Regions from separate parts of the Homo sapiens genome. Here regions 2, 3, 4, 5, 6 and 7 are each linked to region 1. The links are contacts of gene promoters, found by promoter capture Hi-C in blood cells and fetal thymus (Javierre and others, 2016). All regions are on one chromosome and are shown on one strand. Each heading gives the region's core, a stretch centred on a gene start or on the middle of the fragment in contact. The rest is flanking DNA. Distances are from core to core; before and after follow the strand shown.

What was found. The method cuts DNA at HindIII sites, captures the fragments that hold promoters and counts their contacts. A CHiCAGO score of 5 or more calls a contact.
Region 2: a fragment that was not itself captured here is called in contact with the fragment with the promoter of KRT20 in region 1 in 1 of 17 cell types (M1 macrophages); the score reaches 5.2 in M1 macrophages.
Region 3: a fragment that was not itself captured here is called in contact with the fragment with the promoter of KRT20 in region 1 in 10 of 17 cell types (M0 macrophages, M1 macrophages, M2 macrophages and 7 more); the score reaches 18.1 in M0 macrophages.
Region 4: a contact is called between a fragment that was not itself captured here and the fragment with the promoter of KRT20 in region 1, in 1 of 17 cell types (M1 macrophages). The highest score is 6.1, in M1 macrophages.
Region 5: a contact is called between a fragment that was not itself captured here and the fragment with the promoter of KRT20 in region 1, in 4 of 17 cell types (M2 macrophages, neutrophils, endothelial precursors and 1 more). The highest score is 5.7, in M2 macrophages.
Region 6: a contact is called between a fragment that was not itself captured here and the fragment with the promoter of KRT20 in region 1, in 5 of 17 cell types (endothelial precursors, M2 macrophages, M1 macrophages and 2 more). The highest score is 8.3, in endothelial precursors.
Region 7: a contact is called between the fragment with the promoter of KRTAP9-6 here and the fragment with the promoter of KRT20 in region 1, in 3 of 17 cell types (endothelial precursors, M2 macrophages and erythroblasts). The highest score is 6.8, in endothelial precursors.

The regions. Positions count from the first base shown.
Region 1 is chr17:40,883,737-40,886,542 of GRCh38, reverse strand. KRT20 (keratin 20) reads left to right here and starts at 1,301. Exons shown (of 8, transcript NM_019010.3): 1 at 1,301-1,747. The coding sequence starts at 1,358. All of the region lies in intron 1 of LOC105371777 (a long non-coding RNA gene), which reads right to left. The HindIII fragment of the contact is 977 bases long and covers 403-1,379 here.
Region 2 is chr17:41,196,064-41,198,919 of GRCh38, reverse strand. No RefSeq gene overlaps it. Among named protein-coding and RNA genes, the nearest start is that of KRTAP9-1, 7.6 kb to the right of the region's middle. The HindIII fragment of the contact is 1,378 bases long and covers 873-2,250 here.
Region 3 is chr17:41,329,064-41,331,763 of GRCh38, reverse strand. It overlaps the pseudogene TBC1D3P7. Among named protein-coding and RNA genes, the nearest start is that of KRTAP17-1, 15 kb to the right of the region's middle. RefSeq lists an enhancer at 1,654-2,223. The HindIII fragment of the contact is 1,543 bases long and covers 528-2,070 here.
Region 4 is chr17:41,387,106-41,389,932 of GRCh38, reverse strand. No RefSeq gene overlaps it. Among named protein-coding and RNA genes, the nearest start is that of KRT34, 6.2 kb to the right of the region's middle. The HindIII fragment of the contact is 3,678 bases long and covers 1-2,827 here.
Region 5 is chr17:41,345,465-41,348,415 of GRCh38, reverse strand. KRT33A (keratin 33A) reads left to right here. Exons shown (of 7, transcript NM_004138.4): 4 at 1,194-1,355; 5 at 1,447-1,572; 6 at 1,748-1,968; 7 at 2,180-2,324. The coding sequence ends at 2,297. Among named protein-coding and RNA genes, the nearest start is that of KRT33A, 3.9 kb to the left of the region's middle. RefSeq lists enhancers at 955-1,455, 1,456-1,956. The HindIII fragment of the contact is 959 bases long and covers 1,106-2,064 here.
Region 6 is chr17:41,286,887-41,289,844 of GRCh38, reverse strand. No RefSeq gene overlaps it. Among named protein-coding and RNA genes, the nearest start is that of KRTAP9-7, 13 kb to the right of the region's middle. The HindIII fragment of the contact is 390 bases long and covers 1,475-1,864 here.
Region 7 is chr17:41,264,083-41,266,782 of GRCh38, reverse strand. It overlaps KRTAP9-6 (keratin associated protein 9-6), which reads right to left and starts at 1,405. Exons shown (of 1, transcript NM_001277331.1): 1 at 923-1,405. The coding sequence starts at 1,405. The coding sequence ends at 923. The HindIII fragment of the contact is 5,841 bases long and covers 1-2,700 here.

The sequences.
Region 1 (2,806 bases), core at 52-2,551:
AAGTATCAGGATGACAATTAATTAGATGTTTTTAGTGACTTTTCCAATCCCTTCTAATTAACTTGGAAGTGATTAACTGATTATCTAATTATATTAATTAGTGATTATCTAATTAACTAAGGAAGTGATTTACATGCTTCATGGGAAGTGTGAATTCTCAGCCAGGGGGTTTGAATGAAGGGAAGCAAGTGACTCAGGCATTTATTGGTTGCTTACAATCAGATTCCCACCGATGAGATCATGCCCATGTGTCTAGAGGTCCACACACAAGCAGCTGCCTCCAGCCCAACCCTGGAAGCTGAGTGTAGTCCCAAGTCCCCGCCTGCACCCCTTCCTATATAAACAGCCACTCTCGCTGTGATTATGGGGGCATACAAGGAAGATCAGGCTTCCATGGAAGCTTCTGCAACTGAAATCCACTGGGGACTTTAGAAGGAGCACCTGTAAGTAGCTTCAGGATGGATGGGGCAGAGTCTGTCTCATGGTGGGTGTTAAGCTGGCCTCATACAAAAGAGGAGACCCATCCTGATACCATGCCAGGTACAAAGCACTGTGTGATTTATTCTAAGTGTCTTGGTAACAGGACTTGAAGCCAGGTGGTGACTGGAAACCTAAAATGCAATATTTAGTCATAGAACATTAGAAATAGAAAGAAAATAACCTCCCAAATCATCTAATCCATCACTCAGCTAAATTCATTTAATTCACATCCCCAAACTACATCTCCAAATGTACAATGGTTTCATTCCTGGTTTAGGGATTCGAGGTTTTGTGTTTGTACAAAATATTTTAATAGTCTTATAAAATAAGATGTCCAAAACACAATAAACTTAAAAGCCAAACACAAGCAAAGCATGAAACAGAGGTTCTGAAGAGCAACTCCTCAATACAAATCAAACATTGTCCTTTATCTCCATTGTGACTTTCAGTTATGTAGGCACATCTGCCTTTTTAGATACCTAAATTATACATGAGGATTGTAAATATTCTTTGTGTGTATGTTAGGATGAAAAAAACCTGCCAAGGCAGGCGCATGGGCTAAAAGAATACACTTTCCTGTTTCCTTTTATTACCTGTTTAATTAAAAAAAAAAAAAAGTTGCCCCTGATAAAAGCCTCCAAGAAATGCCTCTAGTGGTATTTTCTGGAATTGAATTAAGCATATTAACATATTGCTATACAAAGCGGGGGGCGTGGAAGTAAGGCAAGGTGGACTGTGGTGCCAATCCTAGTGACATGTCAGCAGAGGAGGAGTTTCTTGCCTGTGGACTTCATAAAAGGCTAGCTCAACACCCTCCATGAGACACACTCTGCCCCAACCATCCTGAAGCTACAGGTGCTCCCTCCTGGAATCTCCAATGGATTTCAGTCGCAGAAGCTTCCACAGAAGCCTGAGCTCCTCCTTGCAGGCCCCTGTAGTCAGTACAGTGGGCATGCAGCGCCTCGGGACGACACCCAGCGTTTATGGGGGTGCTGGAGGCCGGGGCATCCGCATCTCCAACTCCAGACACACGGTGAACTATGGGAGCGATCTCACAGGCGGCGGGGACCTGTTTGTTGGCAATGAGAAAATGGCCATGCAGAACCTAAATGACCGTCTAGCGAGCTACCTAGAAAAGGTGCGGACCCTGGAGCAGTCCAACTCCAAACTTGAAGTGCAAATCAAGCAGTGGTACGAAACCAACGCCCCGAGGGCTGGTCGCGACTACAGTGCATATTACAGACAAATTGAAGAGCTGCGAAGTCAGGTGAGAGATGATGCTTGTGTTTCCTACTCTGTGTTTAGCTTCAAGATAAATCAAGAGGTTATCTATGTTAGGTAGGTCCAAATGGACTTTGTAAAGCAAATTAGGCTAAAATGTTACATCTATAAAAATTCTTTCATCTACCTTTAGTGCTGGAGTACCTGACTGTACAACAGGATGACCTTAAATCATGCTATTTTTAATGTTTAACACAATTACATACAAAATATGAACATTTTATCCTCCGGAATAAAATGAATCTTTGTCACAGCTTATCACATCAGGGCTAAATGTATAGTGAACAATCTTTCTGAAAAGAGCTAAAAATTAATTACGTGATAAATCTCTCTTAGTTTTTCACCTAGTCCTTATCAAGTTTTGAAACCCCAGTAAATTCAAAGACTTTTCTCCTTTTATTTAAGTAAATGTTATAATATGACTATTAGAATACTGTACTGCAGATTTAAATAGCAAAGTGATTCTGGGTGGAAACAGTGTGGCAGGAATATGGGTCTTAATGATGCCTGGATTTTTAAGTGCCCTGTTTAATAACATGACCATCAGCATCAAGCAGTTCAGAAACTACTTCTACAGTAATAAAATGTTCTATTGCCCCCAATTCATGTTTATTACAATCATATCACAACCTCCTCCTATGTCATCAAAAAAAGGGTGGAGCTCTGTATTTTATCAGTTTCATGGAATAAAAGCAGAAGACTTTGCTCCTAATTGAAAATTTCAGATATGACACAGAGCACTTGCTTCAAATTAAAGTTCTTATCTAATTAAGAAAAGTGTTCACTGTAATTTGTGTTAAGATTCATACTCCTTTAGAGCAAAGCGCATTTACTTACCAGCAAGTCTGTTTTTCTTGAGTTGTACTAAACATCAGGGCAATTTGATTCGGACTCCATGGGAAGTTACTTTGGAATTTTAGAAACTATGGGCATGTGAAGCAATGGCATTTAAATAGCCCTTCCGGAATAAAGTTCATCCTTCGCAAGCTCTCACTAAAAATGTTCGAACCACACCTGTCTCGTGTTTCTGACTCTAGTTTGGTTC
Region 2 (2,856 bases), core at 312-2,811, 310 kb before region 1:
TTTTTTTAAAAAAAAATTTACTTCCATAAGTTTTTGGGGAACAGGTGGTATTTGGTTACATGAGTATGTTCTTTAGTGGTGATTTGTGAGATTCTGGTGCACCCATCACCCGAGTAGTGTATGCTGAACCCAATTTGTAGTCTTTTATCCATCACCCCTTCCATCTTTTCCCCTGAGTCCCCAAAGTCCATTGTATCATTCTTATGCCTTTGCATCCTCATAGCTAGCTCCCACTTACAAGATTTCAGGTTCGGTTTTCCATTCCTGAATTACTTCTCTTAGAATAATAGTCTCCAATTCCATCCAGATTGCTGTGTCATTAATTCATTCCTTTCTATGGCTGAGTAGTATTCCATCATATATACAACCATTTCTTTTTCCACTCATTGATTGATGGGCATTTGGGCTGGTTTCATATTTTTTGCAATTGCAAATTGTGCTGTTATAAACATGCACGTGCAAGTATCTTTTTCGTATAATGACTTCTTTTCCTCTGGGTAGATATCCAGTTTTGGGATTGCTGGATCAAATGGTAGTTCTACTTTTAGTTCTTTAAGGAATCTCCACACTATTTTCCACAGTGGTTGTACCAGTTTACATTCCCAGCATGAGCAGCTTTTTAAATTAAAAAAAAAAAAACTAACTTCTTGGTGAATCTGGATTCATAATATCTGTACTCCATTCTGAGGGGACTTCAGATGTTGGCATGATTTTACTCCAGTATGTGTTTTAAAAAGAAAAGGAAGGACACTCCCTAAATCCAATCCCTAGAAGTTCTATCAACATCCTCTCAAGCCTTTATATCATTTATTTATACTTATATCAAGTACTCTCAAGCTTTTATATTAATTAGACAGGTACAGTAGAAAGCTTTTAGGTTGGGTAGATTCTGATATCGATTTTCAGAAGATTCCAATATTCTTATCTAAGCTGAAAGAAGGTATTGAAACATCATACAAATACCGTGGGAATCTCTCAGAACAACTTACATAATACAGTGTTATCAGTCTTCAAAATTTCTATAATTTCATATAATATCAGTATTATCAGTCTTCAAAATTTCTATAATTTCATGAAGTTCTTAATATCTTAGAAACAAATCTACACTTGTTAACCTCAGTGGGAATCATTATACATGTTCCTCTGATTCTTTTTCCATTTTTCCACATTTTACACATGAGCAAACTCTGAACATAACAAACCTCACAATTCTCCAGTGAGTCAATCTGATGTTGATAGGACTTCCAATATTGGCAGTTCTGGGGGCTCTCTCACACTTCTTAAACTATCAATGTTATAGCTGGGATTGGAATTAGGGAGTGTCATTCCTTTTCTTTTTAAAACACATACTGGAGTAAAATCATGCCAACATCTGCCATCTAGGGGGAATTCTGAATGGAGGTTCTCCAGTGGAAAAATAGGGAAGTTTTGTTACATACATTGTACACTGGACAGAGCTAAAGAAAATGAAAAACCATTTCGTGAAAGCATTACTTGGTCTTGTCCATAATAATATTATATTTTAATAGAGGACTGAAGTGTGGAATTGTCTTTTATGTTTAATGGCAGTCATAGGAAAAATTGCAGTAGGATGTGCATAAACCATCAGAACTCACTGAGGGATCCCAGGGGAAGGAGTGTGATGGGGGAATCACACAAACAGGTGTATGATGTCATGTTACTGTCTAATGATAACAAAGAGCCCATGCCAGTTTCTGAAGACAGACCTGCATGGCTGCAGCTTATATTTTTATTTGGAAGAAAGAGAAAGTGGACAAAATCCGGAGTTGCCTAAAATATAATTTGTATGCTATGGCCTGAAACTTCATAAATGATCCATAAATATGATGGCAAAAGTAAACAAAATTAAAAATGTTTTGTAGGTCTTTATGAGGCAAAGGCATAAATGAGGTTGTATCAGAAGTTGGGGAACATGGGAGGGGCTGCTTCAAGACCTGCAGAAATTACTGTAAGTTGATTGAAGATGGTTTTAAAAAGAACCTGGGACTTATAAATGGGGGTGGAGGTTTGGTGAGCCATGGCAGCTTAGAGAAAAGAGAGAGTCTGAGACAAATTCAGAAGTGCTGGTTACGACACATTGCATGGGGGAGGGAGAGCCACCCAAGGCACTTGAATTTTCCAGAGTGCCTGGCAAAATCTGTTTTAGAACAAATGCATTAGATGCCATTCCGTATTATTAGAACTTCTAGAATATTAGAATGTTCTAAATATTTGCTGAGAAAATAAGCTTTTAGGGCAATACAAGGGATCCTTGTGCTGATGGAGCTACTCTGTGTCTTGAAGGTATCAATGTCACCATTGGACTTGTGATACCGTACTGTAGTTTTGCAAGAAGTTATCATTGGGGGGAAACTTGGTAAAGAGTACAGAGGTTTCTTTGTATTATTTCTTGCAACTGCATGTGAATCTACAATTATCTCAAAAAGTTTAATTATAAAAAAGAAAATAACCTTTGGTTATAATTTCACTTTTCATGCAGGTATATCTATAGGAAGAAAATATCCTGGTCAAAAAGACCCATGAAAATGTCATCTTCTCTTTAAGTTATTTCTCATGTAGATTCTTCAACTGGTACTAATGTTATGGGCTTGGTGAAAGTGAGCCTGCTCCCAGAGGTGGTTTCACTCTTAGAATGTAAATAATTTCAGTTTCTGGAGTGTGCAAGGCTGAAGGCCAGATACTGGTACGTTTTTCAAGGTAGTATTTACTACCCTGGAAGACAGCCTTCCTGTTTCCTCCAAAGGATGCCTAATAAGTATGTATGGCACTTTGTGTTTCTTTTTAAATTTTACATATTTTACATATTTTGTTGCTTATGGACTTCAAAAATCAGCG
Region 3 (2,700 bases), core at 50-2,549, 450 kb before region 1:
CTAGCTGGGCTCTGAGTCATGAGGGCAGACAGTGGCCAGGGTGAGGCTGGCACTGTGCATCCCCTTCCCCACTGCTGAAGATGCCGCCTAGGGTGGGCTCACAGTCTTTGGGGAGTTAAGAACCATCCTGATCCTAGAGAAGGTTATTTCTGGAAGCAAAAATCCAGGGTTTATGCTCCTGGGACAGGGGATCCCTGGAGCCTCTCATCCTCCCCATAGCCTTTGCATTGGGCAGTGAAGGCGTTTTCCTGTTGAGTCTGAGGAAGGGAGAAGTGGTGTCACTTGGGGTGTCAGCTTTCATCTCACTTAGTCCTCACGGGGGCCTGCAAAGTAAGGGTCACCATCGGCCCAATTTACAGATGAGGACACTGAGGTTCAGAGAAGTTACATGATTTGCCCAAAGTGACACAGCTACTAAGTGGCTGAATGGGATTGAATCCAGGTCTTTCTGAGACAGCCCAAGCTGTTGATGGAGCCCTCTGGCTCACGGATGAGCAGGTAAAGTGAAACAAACACTTTAGAAAGCTTACCTGAGGGTGAGGGGGCAGGCAATTGAGCCTTCTGTGGGGTCCGAAATGTTTACAGTTGTCTCTCTGCGTACGTCGGGAATCAGTTTCACCACCTCCCACAAATACCAAAATCCACAGATGCTCCAGTCTTGATATAAAATGGTACAGTATTTGCATATAACCTAAGCACATCTTCCCATATGCTTTAAATCATCTCTAGATTACTTACCTATGCAATCATGTGTCAGATAGCAACATTTCAGTCCGTGCCAGAATGCATATAGAATGGTGGTCCCATAAGGTTATAATGGAGCTGCCCTATACAGGTGTACCATCTCTAAAAATTGATATCTAAAAAGAGATGGGGTCTTTTTATGTTGCCCAGACTAGTCTAGAACTTCTGGGCTCAAGTGATCCTCCCGGCATGGTCTCTCAAAGTGCTGGGATTATAGGCATGAACCACTACATCTGGCCAGGTGTACCAATTTTTTTTTTTTTTTATCATTTATACTGTATTTTTATCATTCTTTTCTGTGTTTAGATACACAAATAGCCATCATTGTGTTACCACTACCTATGGTACTCAGTATGGTAACATGCTGCAGAGGTTTGGAGCCCAGGAGCAATCAGCTCTACCATTCAGCCAAGGTGTGTGTTTGGTTGCAACCTCTGAAGGAAGCTAAGGAGGAATGACCTAAAGACAGAAGGTGAGTCCGAGGTGGGATCCTGGGACAGGTACCAGAAGTTAAGCAAAAACAGGTGAAATCTGAATGAATTTCACCATATTAATATAGTGACAGCATTAATAACCTTAAATAATAGTTAACATTATTATTCAGTTAACAGGATTGCACCCATGTTAAATTCCTTAATTTTTTTTTTAAGAGAGAAAGTCTCATTCTGTCGCCCAGGCTGGAATGCAGTGGTGCGATCATAGCTCACTGCTTCCTGGATCTCTTGGGCTCAAGCGATCCTCCTGCTTCAGCCTCCTGATTAGGTGGGACTATAGGCACACGCCACCATGCCTGGCTCCTTATTTTTTTTTTTTTTTTTTTTTAACTTTTCTCCAGGGATAGGGTCTACCTATGTTGCCCAGGCTGGTCTCAAACTCCAGGACTCAAATGAACCTTAACCTCCTGCCTTGGCCTCTCAAACTGCTGGGATTACAGGTGTGAGCCACCACACCTGGCCTAAATTTCTTAATTTGGACAAATGTGCCATGGTAATGCAAAATGTCATTATTAGGGGCAGCTGGACGGAAGGTGTCGGAGTACACTATAATGCCTTTTCAGTTTTTCTATATATCTAAAATCATTTCAAAAGTAAACATTTATTTTAAAACATGGACGTGGTTATCCTTCCATGAGTGTAAAGTACAAAAGGCAGGCTCATGGTGTTGTCAGAAGTCAGAACACTGGTTGCAGGGCTGGGGGCGCAGAGGCTGGGTTGGCTTTGTGATCTGGGGGCTGATGTGTTCCATCTGTTAATGTCTTTAGAGCTGTGCACTTTCTTCATAAATTTTCATAAGTTTAACAAAAAAGTAAAACGAGGATGGGAAGCTTGTTTGGGTTGTGGGGCCTCGGGAGTGTACTGCTGCTTGTCCCTAGCTGTGAATGGGGTGCCCTGGTCGGAAGCAGTGCTGTGTGCACTGCAGGGCCGGCAAGTGCATGTCCACGTTGTGGCTCAGTGCAGTGAAAGCCAATCTCAGCCCCTTCCGCAGTGTGGTCAGCCTGCCAGTAGGTGGCCAGCTGGTCCTTCTGGGAAATGGTGCCATCCCAGGGGTTGGGTGTGAATCTGTTTTCCACAGACAAGGCGCTCAGCAGTGGTGTCAGCCTGGTGAGCCTTGGTAAGGGCATGTGCAGGATGCTGAGCCTCTCCCGTCCCCATGCCCGTCTCATGGCCACTTGCTCTGCGGGCCCATCCAGCAAGCATGGTGGCTGGGAAAGAAGCCGGCTCCATCCACAGGGCATGCTGTTTTGCCCACCTCAGGACCAAGAGTATTCTCTGTAGTAATTCTCTTTGGTGGGAGCACTGGGAACATGAACAACAGATACCTTCAGAGTCTGAGCTGCTGAGGTGAGGGCTGCAGGGTGCCCTGCTGTCAGGAGAGCCTGCACTGGCAGCTGGAAGGCACGTGGTGGTGGCACCTGCTGTGGCTGCAGCAGTGGCTGCAAGGCTTCGAGATCTCTCC
Region 4 (2,827 bases), core at 141-2,640, 500 kb before region 1:
TCACAGCCTGGCCTAGGTCAGTGTCTCATCTCTCTAACTCACAATAAATATGATGGGTCAGGCCGACTGAAGCCTGCTTACTTGTGTCATTTTGAATGAGTTAAATTTACTCCCAACATTTCAGATTCTTCATCTCTGCTACATGGTGACAAAAATGGAACCTGAACACTCAGGTTCTGGGGTGAGGATGAAATACTATATGCAAAGGTACCTAGTAGACTATCTGACTAGAAAGTGATTGATTGATATTCATTTCCTTACTACCTTACTGTCTGGGCACTAGTTTTCTCCTCCATAAATTCAGGTCCTTCTAGCTTTAGAGTTCTTTGATTGTAGGAAACTGAATTTACTTCTGAGATGAACTTTTACAGGATTAAAACTCATGGTTAGAAGGGTAGTCTTTCTTCTAAGTTCTAAATCACTTAGGTCATGTGATTATGCATTTTAATTTGCTTAGATATTCAGAAAAGACAATCTAGTTTCCAGTTTGGATCAATTATGCAAAAGGACGATTATTTCCCTGTGGAGAAAAATAAATGAGTAAGACTTGGCCTTAGTTCAGGAAGGTACCATAGAGATTAGCTGGGTGCTCAAAGGCTTGGGCAGAGAGGCCTTTGGAGGAATGATGGAGTATGAAGGGGTGGGGAACAGGGCCCTAGAGGGGACCAGAAGGAAAAACTACGAAGTAAGGGGCAATGGGAAGCAATGAATATTTCCCTCACAAACCAGAGAAACCTCTGTGCCAAATATAAAGGTTTTGTACTGTGTTTAGGTGTTCATGATCAGGAGTCATAAACCTGAATTGTTCAAATCCCTGCTCCACCATTTATTGCCTGTATCTAGGGCAAATGTGGAGCCTTTCCCAGTTTATTTCTTTATCTGTAACATGGGAATAATAGGCCAACTTTATACAGTTGTTGGGAGAATCAAATGAGAAATGTGCCAAAGTGCTTAGTGCCTTGTTTGGCATCTAATAAGCCTTGATGAAATGGCAGAATCATCATCAACAACAACACTGCCATTATTATCATTATTACAAATGCTTGCACAGAGCTATAAGGCTAGAAGATTCCAAGAGGATAACAAAAGCACATTTCAATCCCAGTACCAGAAAAGAGGCTTTGGTGATATTACAATTTCATGTGGAGAACTTGTCCTCCTCCAGAACTACCCCAAATAAGATAACCAAACCCACAAGATCAGGAACTTAGCAGAGAAGATAGAGGTAATGGTTATCTGCAACTTCCTATTTCAACCACTAAGTTAATGTTAACATTTGCATTTTGATGGTTAATTTATGAATAGAGTTCTGTGCCCCTAGTACTTACAAGGTAAGTGGGTGAAGTTTGAGCACCACTGGGTTGGGATGGGCAATGGGCAATTTGTCTGCTTAACGAAGTAGAATTTTCACAAAATTCTTCATCTGAGCCACCTGGGTCAACAATAGGAACAATGAAGTTTATGGAAATAAACATCATCACTCCCTCCCCCAAACATGTTCACACACAATACCTTACCTTTTGCAAAAAAAAACAAAAACAAAAACAAACAAACAAAAAAACAAAACTATGAGGTAGGCAGCATTATTATTATTTCAATTCAAGAGATGAGATAAACAAGACTCAAAAAAGGGAATGAACTTCTCTGAGCTCATATCATAGGTAAGGATGTAAATCCAGGTCATTTAATTTCAAATTCGTGTTTTTTGGAGAGTGACATCAGCAAGATGAGGGAATAAGCAGCCCTGGACCCTCCTCACCGTCATGGGCACACTAATTCAATAATAATACTCAGATAAATTTTATTTGTGAGAAATCTAGTAACAATTTGAGAGGCTCTTGCACCCTGGATGAGTGTAAAACCAGCCAAATCAAAGTTGGTAGAAAGATTTTAAGATACTCTATCACAATAATCCCTGCTTTCTCAGCATAGTATCATATGGTTAGGAGGAAATCCCCCTCCCAGCTTCTTTGCAGGGAGAGGAGGAAATAACTGGACCATACATTCAACATTCAGATTTTTCTGAGAGCTGCCAATGCACTAGCTTCTGTCTTGCCTGTCTTAGAATGCGGATGGAATCCAGCATACTCCAGACGTCTAGGAGCCATTGAGAACAAAGAGGGTAATTTTAACTAGCATATGAATATTCACCACAGCCCTCTCCCCCGGCCAAGTTCAGAGCGAGCCAGTGAAAAACCCTGGGTCCCAGGCTCTCCCTGGAGAGAGAAAGAGTTAGACCTGTGTCCAATATTCTGTCTTTTCTGTGGACAGTATCAGGGATGGGCTTCTGTCTCACCTGTGCCAGAGTGCTATGGAAACTAGCCATACTCAAGATGCCTGGAGGCTGCAAAGATGGTGGTTTGGACTAGCACAAAAATTTGAGAGGTCCCCAGTATCTCTGGCTGGGCTGATTGGTGAAGGTCTTCTCCAGTACAAGGCCAGTCCGTGAAGATTGGGAGAGGTGGCTGTTTTGTCTAATGCACAGACACCAGCACAAAGATCCAAGGATAATGAAGAAACAGGGAAATATGTCCTAAACAAAGGTACAAGATAAATCTCCTGAAGTTGACCCCAATGAAAGAGATATACAATTTACCCGAAAGAGAATTTGAAATAACCATATATTCAAAATAGAGAATTCAAAATAACCATATAATCACAGGCTGGGCATAATGGCTCATGCTTGTAATCCCAGCACTTTGGGAGGCCGAGGTGGGTAGATCACTTGAGGTCAGGAGTTTGAGACCAGCCTGGCCAACAGGGCAAAACCCCATCTCTACTAAAAATATAAAAATTGGCTGGGCACAGTGGTGCGCAACTGTAATCC
Region 5 (2,951 bases), core at 336-2,835, 460 kb before region 1:
GGACAGGCTGTCAGTAGAGGCTCAATTAGCTGAGGAAGTAATTCTGCATACAAAAAGGGATATGTAGAGAATGACTAATCTAAAAACCTGTGATATGAGATTAGGATTTTTCTGCCAGAGGCAGGAATGAGAGTGAGGAAGTTGGCAAGCCCAGTAGTGAGGAAAGCTGGGTAATGAGGCAGAAGCCACAGCCTCTCCTGTGCCCAGGTTAGAGTGCATGCAGCAGCAATCTTCTATTCCAATTCTCCATTTGTAGCTGGAGAAGCCAGGATGGCCTAGGCCCATCAGGCAGAGAGGGCTGAGCTAGAACAAAATGCAATTCTCTTCGTTCCTGTCCAGAGCTCTTTCTGCTTGCTGTTCAGTGTTGCTTGGAAACAGCCTTGAGCAAAATGCTCACCATTATGGCTAAGTCAGTTGGGCAAAAAAGAAGACGTGTATTTTATGCAACCTGAAATCCAAGAACAATGTAAATGGTGACAGTTAATATTAATCAAGTGCTTAGTATGTGCCAAACATTGTGCTAAGTGCTTTAACTCCGGAGGCAGTTCTCATGTTAAGATGAAGAAATCGAGGCTTCAAGAAGCTTCTAGAAGCAATGTATTAAGTGGTAGAGATGAGGTTGAATACAAATTTGTCTGAAATCCGCCTAAGCCCAAGTACCAAGCTATGCTTAGCAGGGAAGTAAACAGATACTTATTGCCTTCAGCAAAATCTATGCTGGTGGAATCAACAAATCACCCTTTAAGTCTCTTCTATGCCAGGATGGCAGATTTTGAAGTAAGCATTCTGTATTTCCTCTTTAGCTAGACTCTGTTCTTTTTATTATCCATGCTTAAGAGTCAAACATGTGAGGCTATATGGTATACTAGCAAAAACACTGAACTGGGCATTTGGGGACCAGAGTTTAAATAATGGCCCACCATGTATCAGCTTTGAGCCCAAATCACTGAATCTCTCTAAATGAGGAGTGATACATTTAATACAAAGAGCAGAGGGAAGTCATGGGCTTGAAAGTAGTTTGTAAAAAGTGGAGTATACAAATTAGTCATTGAATATAGATCCTGGTTAGTGACAGGATCAGAGGGAACAAAGTTTCTTGAAAGCTTAAGAATGATCAGAAGTTGAATTGCATTCTCTTAAGGAGAGCACCAAGATCCTTTGTGAAATTTAAAATTTTGCCCTTTCTCCATCAGGAGGTTAACACCCTGCGCTGCCAGCTTGGAGACCGCCTCAACGTGGAGGTGGACGCTGCTCCCACTGTGGACCTGAACCAGGTCCTGAATGAGACCAGGAGTCAGTATGAGGCCCTGGTGGAAACCAACCGCAGGGAAGTGGAGCAATGGTTCGCCACGCAGGTGGGCATCTAAGCACGTGGCCACTCAGGACCCGAGGCCCCCCAGGGCCCCGGAGGCAGGGTCTGATCCTTTCTCCCCTTGGGTGTTTCAGACCGAGGAGCTGAACAAGCAGGTGGTATCCAGCTCGGAGCAGCTGCAGTCCTACCAGGCGGAGATCATCGAGCTGAGACGCACGGTCAATGCCCTGGAGATCGAGCTGCAGGCCCAGCACAACCTGGTGTGTATTGTTCAGACCTGCTGGTGAGCGATGGGAACTTGGGAGGCAGAGTCTTGGGGATGCCCTTGGGGCCACACACTCTCCTTAGCTCTTGGAGCTTGTGAGTTCTTTGGAACCCCATGGAGGAACCTTATAAGGAGCAGCTCTCTGACACTCTCAATCTTCCCCACCACAGCGAGACTCTCTGGAAAACACGCTGACAGAGAGCGAGGCCCGCTACAGCTCCCAGCTGTCCCAGGTGCAGAGACTGATCACCAACGTGGAGTCCCAGCTGGCGGAGATCCGCAGTGACCTGGAGCGGCAGAACCAGGAGTATCAGGTGCTGCTGGACGTGCGGGCGCGGCTGGAGTGTGAGATCAACACGTACCGGAGCCTGCTGGAGAGCGAGGACTGCAAGTCAGTATGGGGGTAGTAATCTTCTCCTTGGGGCATGTTAGGTTGCTGTGGAGATGAATAGTCTTCTTGATGGAAATGAATTTATAATTTCAAGCTTTTGTTTGGAGGAAGTCCAAGGAGGAACAATATTCTTACACAAAGCCCTTTTAGTATTTTCCAATCTCTTCAGCTCATTTTACTCTAACTTGCTCCAATGATTTTCTGCCCACAGGCTCCCCTCCAACCCCTGCGCCACAACCAATGCATGTGACAAGTCCACTGGGCCCTGTATCTCTAATCCCTGTGGCCTACGTGCTCGGTGTGGGCCTTGCAACACATTTGGGTACTAGAGGCCCCACAACCAGGAGGAGAAGAAAGGCATCAGTCACACCTCAACTCTACTTCATCCCAACATCTCCAACAGTGACCACACTTTGGAAAGAGGCAGAAACCTTTCTATCAACCCTGGCTTCCAGGGGTCAGCTCTAGCCTTCCACTGTATTCCCTGGCTTGATTCTTCAGCATAAGGCTGCAAAATCTGTCTTCTGAGTCACATAGAGAGACCTACAGCAGGATCAAGATCAAGCAATATCTATCACCATAAAGACACATTTGCATAACATGTTATACTTGAATAAAACTTAAATAATACAATTTAGAGAAAATTCCATTAAATGTGATAGAGCTGATGGGCATGCTATGAAACAGAACATAATTGGAGCAAATCTTCCTTGTCACTCTTGGTCTTTGGAGATGCAATAGAAATCCTTTGTTAACCTCCTAATAAACTGTTATTCAAAAGTTATAATTGTCTGTTTCACTCATTAATTCCAAAATTGGCTGTCTTGTATAAATTAAAAAAATAACCAGAGTTTTTCCATCAGATGAAGAGGTTATTCACCCCATATATGGCCTATGATTTCCTTCAATGGAAAAGCCTCCATGAAAGACTATTAACCCGGATTTAGTGTTTGGGAAGAAGGTGGTGGGAAACAGAATGGCAA
Region 6 (2,958 bases), core at 420-2,919, 400 kb before region 1:
ACTCCCTCTGGCATCTTTATAGTATACTGAAAAGTATTTTAAAAGGCCTTAGGATACTAATCACACACAGTAAAGTATTTTAAAAAGAATTAAGTCAACATAAGCCATCTTTTCTCCCAGTGTCTATTAGAATGAAATTTCCCCTGTCATTTTTCTGATTGTTTCCCTATCTATTTAATAACTAGGGTACACGTCAGACTTGTCCTGAGAAGTTCCATTCCTGAGGAAAAGCTATGCATGATTGTCTTATTTTGGAAATCTCAAATGTGGGATTCGTGTAATGGGCTTTGATAAAGGATGTTAAGGGGCAAAGTTAAGGCAGCCTTGTAAAGGTCAACTTGGAAACTAAATATCAGTAGGGAGTTATCTCAGTGGCTATAAGTTAAGACAACAGAATAAAAACTGATATTTGAGACATAAAAATGGCCCAAAAGATGGGTGTAATGAGCCCATGAGTCCCCAGTATAACATGAAACTTGCCCATCTGCGTGGTGTACGGCATTTGGTGTTACTCATGTTGGTCTCATCAGTTTGCCCACCTAAATAAATTCATCTTACAACAATAGTTCTATAACATCTAGAAGTAAGTTCCCTCCTGTAGCCCACTTCATCAGAAACTTCTTGGCAACACCTGAACCTAGCTGGAACTGGAAAAATATTTGATGGTAGTGATTTCCTGATAAATAGTCTAGAGCTGTTGCAAACAAAATCCAAGGATTGCTCTTTTTAGACACAGTCTTGCTCTGTCGCACAGTCTAGAGTGCAGTGGCTTGATGTTGGCTCACTGCAACCTCCGCCTCCTGGGTTCAAGCGATTCTCCTGCCTCAGCCTGCCGAGTAGCTGAGATTGCAGGTGCGTGTCACCACACCCCACTAATTTTTTGCATTTTTAATAGAGACGGGGTTTCACCACATTTGTCAGGCTGGTTTTGAACTCCTGACCTCAAGTGATCCACCCACCTTGGCCTCCCAAAGTGCTAGGATTACAGGTGTGAGCCACTGTGCCTGGTTAAAGGGTTGCTGTTTAAATGAACTATTTGCTTATGCTCTAAGTCAGCATGGATGGGATCCATAGATCTTTCCCGAAGTCTTAAAAATTAGTCTCTTGACTTAGTGGCATGGGAATAGATGTGAAAGAACTTTGTTTTTTTAAAAATATTAATTAATTAATTAATTTTTGAGACAAAGTCTTGCTCTTTCACCCAGGCTGGAGTGCAGTGGCGCGATCTCAGCTCACTGCAAACTCTGCCTCCCAGGTTCAAGTGATTTTCGTGCCTAAGCCTCCCGAGTAGCTGGGAATACAGGTGCACACTGCCAAGCCTGGTTAATTTTGTATTTTTAGTAGAGACGGGTTTTGCCATGTTGGCCAGGCTGGTCTCGAACTCCTGACCTCAAATGATCCTCCTGCCTTGGCCTTTCAAAGTGCTGGGATTACAGGTGTGAGCCACTGTGCCAGGCCAAAATGGGAAAAAGCTTTGTAAAATATAAAATATCCTTTAAATTTAAGAGCTTATGAAGGATATACTGCACACATAATCTAGGTCACGAAAGGATATGCAAGATGAGTATAGATTACTAGGTGATAAATTGGGAAATGCCTTAGTTGCAAAGAAGATAATTCAAATTATAAATACAATGAAGAAATGTGCAGGAAAGATATTTTAGAGGTGGCAAAATTAACCAGTTATTAAGACAATCAGCAGAGGTGGTGGACAGGGATGGTGAATCTCATGCATGTCCAATTTCTAGTGATACTCATTAGTTAAATCCAAACCCTCACTAGTGGCCATGAAGTCCAATGTTTCTTTAAAAAGGCAGTAAGGACCAATGAAGATTTTTTTCCTTGTCCATAGTTTAGTCAAGCTTCTGAACCTTCTCATAGGCCCATGGGTGCACTTCCTTGTAAAATCCAGTTTTGTAAAATTTTAGCAAAGAGCCCTGCTAAATAGGTTTAGCAAGAACTCCCCATCCTCGATATCTGATCACCCTTAATAGCGGATCAGATCTCTTATCTGCCACCATTCTCCAAGTGATGTTTGATCACCCTCGCCTGTCTTCAGCAAGAGCACTTTTAGGTCAGTTTAGCCAAAATTTCCCTACTGGTGATGCTTCCTCTTAGTAATTTTCCATCCACTGACCGCCACCCTGCTCCTTGGCTGTAAATTCTCACTTGCCCATGCTATGTTAGGAGATGAGTCCAATCTCTGTCTCCCAATGCAAGACCCTGTTATGGTGGTTCCTTTGTTTACTGCAGTGTTCCTGAATAAAGTCTCCCTTACCAGGCTTTCACAAGTGCCATTGAATAATTTTTTTTTTAACAAGACTATGATGAATTTTTAAAAGCCAAATCCCTATTGTTTCCCTGATAACATATTATTTCACCAGAAAAATAAATATAAGAAATTCATTTTAAATGTATCTCAAACCATCAGAAAAGGGCTTAACCTTATTGAACTGAGCTACTAGGAAAGAGGAGGAAAGAAGAAGAGTGGAAACCATCGGTCATTCAGTGCAAGCATGTCCGGCTGTCACCAATAAGCTAGCTGTACCTGTCTTAGGACAGAGCTGTATGAAGGAAGTTAATATTTACCAGTTAAAAGAAAAACGAAAGAGGAAAACAGTGATTCAGCACTAAACAGAATTAAGAGTCAGTCATTTGAAATATAGAAAGCCCTAGAAATACCATTACAAACAACAATAATAACAATAAGCCCCCTATTGTATAATAACAAATTGTGCAATAGGTAAAAGATAGATTGTTTAAAGTCTTCTTGGATGTTGTAAGTTATTTTCAGGGCCAAAAAGGAAAAAACTGCTCTTGCAATTCAAGTTCGGGTATATATTTTGCAAATGCTGGCATGCTCAATGCTTCCTGAAGGAGAGGGAGCTATCCTTATTTTGATCAGTTCAGATTGAATGAAAATTTTCTCTGATGCTAATATAGATCCAGTCTCCCAAA
Region 7 (2,700 bases), core at 156-2,655, 380 kb before region 1:
CACTAAATTGTTCTCAGCTGAAAAATTGAGGTAATAATACATAATAATAACTCTGTTTTCAGAATCAAATTGGATAATACATATAGCATGCAATATGTGTGTAAATCTCATATCAGCAATTCTGTAAAATAAAACACCATATGAGATGAAGGATGGTTCAGAATTTATTCAGAAATATATAGGTAAGAATCCCTGCTACTAGGGACATAGCCCAAAGTTACAATGAAAAGAAGAAAGAAGGGTAAAAGAAACATGAGGACAAAATTGAAAACAAAAATATGATTGCAAAGATTATTGATCAGTTGCAGAAACCTAAGTTTCTTAGAAGGAGAGAATGAAGCTCTTGACTTTAGAGTCGAATGGAGACCATGTCTCCACATTGAGAACACATGAAGCTGGCACATGATCCACAAAGTGTAAGGAAAAAAGAATCAGGATGAAGTATTCTGCCCTCCCTCAAGCTGATTCCCAAGATTTTAAACAGGCAAAGAAATAAAAAAAATTGGTGAAAGCATACTGTGTATCAGTAAAGTTTGAAAGTAAATCTGTCTTCTGAAAGATAAGTGAGTTGGGTCTGGGTGTGGTAGCTCACACCTGTAATCCCAGCACTTTGGGAGGCTGAGGCAGGTGGATCACCTGAGGGCAGGAGTTCCAGACAAGTCTGATCAACATGGTGAAAACTACTAAAAATACTAAAAATACAAAAAATTAGCCAGGCGTGGTGGCACAGGCATGTAATCCCAGCTACTCAGGAGGCTGAGGCAGGAGAATCACTTGAACCCAGAAGATGGAGGTTGCAGCGAGCCGAGAGCGTGCTACTGCACTCCAGCCTGGGTGACAGTGAGGCTCCGTCTCAAAAGAAAAAAAAGGTCAGTTGAGCAGAAGGTTGTTGTGTGAGGATGATGGTCCTCTGTGGTGCTGCTCAGCAACAAGAATGCTGGCAGCAGCTGGACACACAGCAGGCTGGGCAGTAGCAGGGCTGGCAGCAGCTGGATCCACAGCTCTGGTTGAGGCAACCAGGCAGGCAGACAGTCGTGGGGTGGTAGCAGGTTCTTCTGCAGTACACAGGTGCACAGGAGCTGCTCTGGCCACAGCTGGACCCACAGCTGGTTTGGCCACAGCAGCTGGACCCACAGCAGATGGGCTGGTAGCAGGGTGTGCTGCAGCAGGAAGGCTGGCAGCAGCTGGTCACACAGGTGGGCTGGCAGCAGGTGGTCCTGCAGCAGGTGTTTTGACAGCAAGTTGGGTGGCAGTAAGGCTGGCAGCAGCTGGACACACAGCAGGAGGGCTGGCAGCAGGGTGTGCTGCTGCAGGTGGTCACAATGGTGGGCTGCCAGCAGGTAGTCCTGCAGCAAGTGGTCCTGCAGCAGGTAGGCTGACAGCCAGGGGAGCAACAGTGGGTCATGTTGTCAGGGGTGGAGGGTGGGCTTCTGTTCAGAGGTGAGTTTCCCAGGATTTGATGACCCCTTGCAATCTGGACCTTTTATACATGTGGCCTCCAAAGTTTCCACCAATCAGCAGGATTTTTCTTTCTTGCTGTTTACAGTTGTTTTCCATAGTCAGTTTGGCATTGTCAAAGAGGAAGTCATTTCCTAAATGTTATGAATCTTTGGAAAGTAAGGGTTTAATCTGTTTCTTAATTGTAAATTACTCGTAGAAACTTTGTTTCAGATAAAAGGAAGGCAGTCTCATCATCAGCTTCGTTCCTGCTCTGACCAGCATCTCGTCATGTGATAGTTCCTGGTGACTGGGGAGGCTCAGGAAGTTCTCTCTGCCCAGTCTCATCCTTTGGCTGTATGTAGACTGGGAAGTGTCTGTGGGGAGAAGCATGATGTTGATATATTCACAGTGGTGAATTGAATCCATGCTTGGGACCAAGACTGTTCACCCACCAAAGTCTGATTCAAGACTGATAGGCATCTCTCTATGTACAACCTACTTTACCTGTCTCTTCCAGTTCTATAAAAGCCTCTTGGGAAGAGGGTGTTCAGCACAATGTGTGCTATGTGGCAGAGCAGAGCCAAAGCAAACACGTAGAAAGAGGAGGGGTTCACTGGAATTCACAAAGCATCAAGCAATCTACGTGCTGCGGTGACCATTCACCCTGATTTGTCTGGGACTGAGGGGCTTACCAGCATGAGAATGTGGGACTGGGAATTACTGTGACATTACTGCTTGAGGTCCAGGCAAAGCAATATGAGCTGTGGCTCTAGCCCTAATCCAGGTTACTGGCACAATCATTGCCATTTCTCTGTCTCTGTCTCTGTCTCTGTCTCTGTCTCTGTCTCTCTCTCTCTCTCTCTCTCTGTCTCTCTGTTTTCAGTGAGGGAATTAGGTGAGTTGAGATGATATCTGATTCCTCTTTGAGGTTTACCATTGTTTAAAACTTTTTAAATTATACCATTCATTTCAGAAGAGTGCAAATTATGAATTCCAACTTGATATAATATTACATTATAAATACATCTAAGTCCCCATTACCAGTTTACAAAATAGAAATTAATTCCATTCCCTCCAAATTATATCTTTTTACTTATCTCCAAAGGTAGCTAGTCACTCTATCAAGTTTTAATCCTGTAGGTCAGTTTTGTTTTTTTCTTTGACTTTTATGTAAATAAAAATTATAGAATTTGCTTCACTGTGTTTTTGGCATAATCAAAAGCAGCAATTATAACCTGGTCATTTCATTTTGGATCCTTC